Regions from separate parts of the Homo sapiens genome. Here region 1 is linked to region 2. The links are contacts of gene promoters, found by promoter capture Hi-C in blood cells and fetal thymus (Javierre and others, 2016). All regions are on one chromosome and are shown on one strand. The core of a region is centred on a gene start or on the middle of the fragment in contact, and the rest is flanking DNA. Distances in the headings are between cores, read along the strand shown.

Evidence for each region. Contacts are between HindIII fragments. The CHiCAGO score rates a contact against its expected background, and 5 or more counts as called.
Region 1: a contact is called between a fragment that was not itself captured here and the fragment with the promoter of MYO1E in region 2, in 7 of 17 cell types (M2 macrophages, M0 macrophages, endothelial precursors and 4 more). The highest score is 10.5, in M2 macrophages.

Annotation. Positions count from the first base shown.
Region 1 is chr15:59,213,423-59,216,426 of GRCh38, forward strand. MYO1E (myosin IE) reads right to left here. Exons shown (of 28, transcript NM_004998.4): 11 at 1,218-1,298; 12 at 806-892. Among named protein-coding and RNA genes, the nearest start is that of LDHAL6B, 8.1 kb to the left of the region's middle. The HindIII fragment of the contact is 583 bases long and covers 985-1,567 here.
Region 2 is chr15:59,370,665-59,374,130 of GRCh38, forward strand. It overlaps MYO1E (myosin IE), which reads right to left and starts at 2,207. Exons shown (of 28, transcript NM_004998.4): 1 at 1,834-2,207. The coding sequence starts at 1,836. RefSeq lists a silencer at 1,152-1,471 and enhancers at 1,487-1,990, 1,991-2,495. The HindIII fragment of the contact is 5,897 bases long and covers 1-2,314 here.

The sequences.
Region 1 (3,004 bases), core at 26-2,525, 160 kb before region 2:
GGCCTCCCAAAGTGCAGGGATTACAGGCATGAGCCACTGCGCCTGGCTATTATTTATTTTTGAGATAGAGTCTTGCTCTGTTGCCTAGGATGGAGTGCAGTGGTGTGATGATATAAGCCTCGACCTCCTGGGCTCAAGCAATCCTTTCACCTCAGCCTCCAGAGTAGCTGGGACTATAGGCTTATGCCACCACGTCCAGCTAATTATTTTATTTTTTTTGTATGGATGGGGTCTCATTTTGTCCCGCAGGCTGGTCTTGAACTCCCGGGCTCAAGCAATTCTCCCGACTCGGCCTCCCAAAGTGCTAGGATTACAGGCACGAGCCACAGCACCCAGCCTGCAGTGAACTTTAGAAGAAACTATACCAAGGCATGTTACCTCAGGTAAGTATTCAAATACCAGCTTTGTTAAAAATGCACGTATTGTTAGGGAAGATTGAAAATGGCGTAGATCTGAGGAAACCAAGTCTTTTATTTGGAACACAATATTTGCCACAGACAGTCGGGGCTGGAACTAGGCTCCCATTTCCCACGTGCTCAATGAGTCAGTAGAGTAAAAGCAGCCAGTCTTACCTCCAACATCACAGCATCATTTGCTTAAAGAAGAAGGCAAATGCTGCAGACGGTATTTATATTTCATAGATTAAAATGCCACAATGGCATATGGTTTTTCTGCCTGACTTTATTAGATGCATTTCCTAATATAAGACTGGAACCGAAATCTATTAACAAAAGACAGAAATCTATACCCTCTTAAACAAAATAAATTATAAATAGAATAGGATGAAGGAAGAGGGACTGCTTACCTGTTCTGCCTTTAATGTCAGTTCAATAAAAATCTGCTGCAGTTTTTCATTAACAAAATTGATACAAAACTGTTCAAAGCCATTTTTCTGGAAAAAAAAAGTTATTCACATGTAATTCTTTCACAAAATCATTTAAAAGTCATTTCTGGAGTGATTTATTGAAATGTCTTCATGTGAAAAGCTTTAATAGAAATGTTGGATGCATCAAAAGAAATAAGTTTATATTTAGGAGAAACTAATTTGGTAAAGGCACATGAAGAACTCACAAAGGCAAAAATGAGCCTGAGTTGTTTTTTTTGTTGTTGTGGTTTGTTTTCTGTTTTTTTGTTTTTGCATTGCCTAGAATTATTTCTTGCAGGCCAGATGAAATACGTCACCCTCCTCAACCCCTAGTTATTAAAACTGGCCTTACCTGGAATATTTCAAAGCCATAGATGTCTAGGACGCCAATGTTGTATTCTTCATGGTCTTTCTCCATGGCTTTATTGATGGACTAGAGAAAGTAAACAGCATGGCAGTGAACTCCTTTCCATTCATACTAAAAACGGGCATGCACTGGGGAAAGGGAAGCTGGATTCTACACGGCAAACACTACTGCTTGCAGGAAACAGAGGACAAGTGAAGGCAGGAGACTTGCTGCTTTAACAATCTCTCAGTCCAAAGTCAAGTACTTTGGAAAACCACCAGGATTCAGAAAAGCGAGTACAGTAGAAACAAAAAATGTTTGTTTAATGATGATAACCATTAATTTCTGTCCAAGTAAGCTTTTTCAGGAAGTCTTAACAATTAGAAAAAAATGTCATCTTGGATGATCGAAGTAAAACCTATTTCACACAAAGAACCCACACTAAAGGATCTGTAATTGTCATTTCCAGTGTCTTCCATTCACCAGTCATTTAATGATGACCCAACACAATATGCCAGGGATGCTAAGGACAAGACAACCCTTGTTCCTAGGCGCTTATAGAGAGGGTGAGCTATCTGCAGATAGTAACAATAGTCATTATTTTTGAATTGATAATAGAAGCAGCTTACGTCTATTAAACATTCACCTTTGCCAGGGTTTGCTAAGTGCTCTCAATGTGTTGTTTCACTTAATTCCCATTTCAGTTCTCAAAATGGCAGTGATACCATTATTTTCCCAATTTTCCACATGGATACACCAAGGCTTGCTTAAGGTTGTTCTATGTAAGAAGCAGGGTCTGGGACTAAATTTAAGCAGTATGATGCCTAAATCTGTGTTCTTAATCACCGTGAGAAGAGGCCAAGCAATTCATGGGAACAGATGTAATGACAGCAAGGGAGGTTTGGATAGAGCGGTTGGTGGGGGATGCAGTGGGGGAGGAATGTAAGCGAACAATTCTTTGAGGTGATGAATACCTGGACGAATTCTGAAGTACCAGAGGTGTTTTCCAGGCAAACAAAATGAAATATCATCTTTTGTGAGCGAATGAGTAATCATACACAACACACAGTCAGTGCCCAGTAAATCCCACCTCAAATTAGGATCACTTATATGAGTATTCATGTACTGGTACTATTCACAAAAAAAACTGACAGGTGACAGGTAGAAAGGTAGGTAGGAAGCCCAGCGCTGGAAGGTGCTCTGAACAAAGAGAAAAGAGATATGGATTCTAGTCCCAGGCTGCACCACCCCCTTGCTGACCAGCCTTGGGCAAAACCACCATTGCTCAGGCCTGAAGTTCCCTTCTCAGTAAAATGAGGGGTCTGGACAACCTAACTGCATGACTTCTGTTTAGTATGACCCTGACCTTCCCAAGCAATGTTATCCTTTAAATAGCCACTAAAGTACCTAGAATAGTTCTCCTACCCTGTCCTGCCTGACCCTACTCTAACCACACTAACCATACCTTAAGCCGTATAAATGTTAGTGCCTGGAATCAAATACAGATCTTTTGGATTGAATGGCCCCCACTGTTGTCCCTTGACTAGGGTCCTTCTAGCTTGAATATATAAACGTCAAAGAAACAAACTAGCTAGGAATCTAGGGCCTCCTAGATCACTCACATAATAACAGAGTGACCTTGGGCAAATTCCTTAATCGATCTATGCCTCCCTTAGTTTATCTGTAAAGCAGAGATAATAATACCTAAGTCACAGGGTTGTTGTAAGAATTAAGTGAGGGTTTTTTCTCTTTAAAATACTCAGAACAGTATCTGGGCACTAACATAGTTAGTT
Region 2 (3,466 bases), core at 957-3,456:
CTGCAATGGGGCTGAATTAAGCATGGTATCACAGGTTTCGGAAAAGGCAACCTAGAGTATATTTCAGTCCATTCAGCATGAAAAATGAGTTTAACTGAGGGGAAGTTAATTTCCTCAAGGTACCACTCAAGTACTTAAATTCAGTAAGATTCTTTAAGTTCTTGACATAAACACATTGATTTTTTTAAGAAATATTGACCCACGGAAAATGATTACAGCAATTCTCAAGTACCAGGACTATCACACTGCTTCAAGGGACCAGGTGCCCAGTGAGGTAGCTTCACCCAAACACATGCCCAATGGGAATGGTTCTCTGCTGGGGTGAGGGAAGGGGTCCAAAAGTAACGTAGAGTAGACTGACTTCTTAAACCTTAAAACTAGAAGAGGAAATGTATAGACAAAGTGTTCTCTTAGATGGGGCAAAAGTGACTTAATTTTGGACTATGTAAAAAGAAAAGGCTTTGGCCGAGGATGCCTTGAAAGGTTTCTCGTTGATGTTTGTTTGTAATCATTCTTTGGAATAAACAGCACGGGGCAAGGGGGCTTCTGAGCTTTGTGTGCAGGTTTCGATGGGCCTCTGCTGCACTTCCCTCAGGCTGCTCACCGGGATATCGATTTTTTAATTAGTGTTGTGCTGGTTATCATTTTGACTTGGCTTCTCTTCCACAGCCATTAGAAAACAACAGCAAACCAGAAGAGGACGAGATAATCCACCTAAGCAGGACTACTTGAAAAGAAGCAAGTGTGGAAACTATGAAGCCTTGTAATAGATTTTTTTTTTTTTGATGAACTGCCGATCTCTTCAAAATAGAGTCCTTGCTTTCGTGCCCCGCAAAGAAAAGTACACCACGCCAAAGCCCAAGGGAGGTGGCTAAGGTTATACAGGGAGGGAGGGGAGTGTAGCTGGACTGGGGAGTTGGAATAGCAGAAAAGTCACAAGTCAAAGAGGCGGCCCCTTCCACACATTCCCAAAGTGCCAAAGGGAAAACAGCAACAAACTCGAAACTCGCGAGGGCGTCTTCCCGTGCGAAGCGTCCCCTGGATCCCCGAAAAGCCCCGATCCCCTCGCGCTTGGGAAGGGGTGGGGTCCTCTTCAGGAGGTGTTTACTTGGCGTCCGGGGCGCGGAGACCCTCGGGGCCGGCGCCCGGCACAGGTCCGGGGCGGCGTGGTTGCCGCCCGCGCCCGAGTCTCCCTGGCTCTTGACAGCCCGCCGGCCGCCAGGTGCTCGCCCTACCTGGCGCCCCCGCCTGCCTTTGTGCGGCCCGCGCCGCCCCTCGCCAAGGCGGGCCAGGGACCGCCCCCGCCCGCGTGCCGCTGCCAGGCGGGACAGCTGCGGGCGCTGCCGGGCAGCGGAGCGGCGGCGGGGAGGAGAGGGAGTCGGCGCGAGGGTGCCCGGGGCGGGGCGGGCACGGCCGCGGGGAGGGCAGGGGACGCCGCCAGCGGCTGCGGCGCGAGTCTCCGAGCACCTCCCCTGCCGGCTGCGCCCCCCACGTCCCAGCAGGAGGAGGGGACCCCCTCCCGCGCCGTGCCCCTCGCAGCCGATGCGCCCACACCCTGGCTTCCGACAGCTGGCAGCCATAGCAACCCGGCCACAGAAAGTTTCGCGACGCAGAAACCGACTTGGAATAAAGTTTTCCTTGGCCCCTCGCTCGCTCTCCCCCGGCCCGGGTTTACGGAAAGCGGCAGGAAATCAGAGCTCGCGACGTGCCGGCTCCCGCGTCCACCTTCTCCACCCCTGGCCCCGGCAGCGCGCCCAAGGTGGGTGCACCACGCCGGGGTTTCCTGCCCCGTCCCCGGGTCCGGCGTCCTAGGACGCGGCGCGGCCAACTCACCATGGTGACTCGCGCCGCGGTCGCGTCTTCGCCGGGTCCCGCTGCCGGGGAACTGGGGCTGGAACGCAGTCTTCTGGGCGAACTTCAAAAGTTGGTTCCCCTCGCCAAAAACAGGCTCCCGACACCCAAGCACTCACAGGAGCCAATGGGAACCCAGAGGGGACTCCATCCAGGCGGGATTGGCGGTGCTAGGTGAGGGCGAGACGGCGGCGACTTAGCAGGCGGGGCGCATGCTGCGGAGGGCAAGAGTCCACTCGTACTCGCCGGTCGCCGCCGGCCCAGGTGAGTCCGATGCGCTCGGAGCGTCCGCCTCGCTCCCCTGCCTCACTCCTCTTTCTTCGGCCACTTAATCCGTACTCCTCTGGCTGAGTCTCGGCTCGGGCCGGGCAATCTGTCCATAAATGGAGAACTCAGCTCAGGCCTGACCAATCAGGGTTTGTTTTCGTAGCGTCACTCCTCAGGGAAACCGTAGTAGCCAACAAGCTTGGAGCTGCTGGAGTTTCCAAAGATCTCTGGATCCTGTAGTCCTCCTCCCGCGCCAGCCACCGAAGAACGCTGCGGACCCAGCTCGCTCCTGGTAGCAAGACCCGAACTGTAAGGAACAAAACCCTCGTGAAAGAGGAGCAAACCTTTCACTTCGCTGCGTTTTAAGACGAAAGTTAGGGTGGGTTTCGCTTCCAAGTTGAAGGGGCATGATTTTCCCAGAACTTTTTTTTAAGAAGGAAATATTTTATCAGCATAAAACATCAGAGTCGTGGCAGCAGCCCAAAGGAAATCCTTTTTCTTTCCTACGTCTGGATTGTGAGCAAAGTCAAAAATATCATTTCCCCACCCCTCCTTTTACCTGAATTTCCTTGGAAAACAAAGGAAGACTTCCGGCTGCTTTTTCTTTTCTTTTTTCTGTTTTTCTTTTCTTTCTCTTTCCTTTCTTTCTTGTTTCTTTTTTGCACGTTTTGATGGCAGAAAAGTTGTTGCACGTGCAGTGGGCAGAGGGAAGGAGAGAGGAGAGATAGGTGGGAAGAAACCCCATCCAACCTCAGCCAACACATCTGCTGAAAACAATCAGAACTGTAAAAATGCATTATTCCAGACTGTCGAATATCCAAGGAGAAGATTGGGGTGGGGCGGGGTGGGGGGAAGCAGAATCTTAAAATCAAGGTAGGGAGTTTGATTTTATTGTTCTGGAGGCTGAGGAAGTAAATTTGGTGAGTCTTAACAGGCTGCCTTCCTGGAATCTGTAGAAGATAAAATTGGTAAACTTCAGGGCATAGAGAAACTATGAAGCATAATGATATTATGATACTTTCTGAAATTTGGTTGAGGCAGGGCGCTGTGGCTCACGCCTACAATCCCAGCACTTTGGGAGGCTGAGGTTGGTGGATCACGTGAGGTCAGGAGTTTGAGACCAGCCTGGCCACCAACACGGTGAAACCCCTTCTCTACTAAAAATACAAAAATTAGCCCGGCATGGTTATACATGCCTGTAATCTCAGCTACTCGGGAGGCTGAGGCACGAGAATCGTTTAAACAGGGGAGGCGGAGGTCGCAGGGAGCCGGGATCGTTCCACTCTACTCCAGCCTGGGCGACAGAGCAAGATTCTGTCAAAAAAAAAAAGAAGGAAAGAAAGAAAGA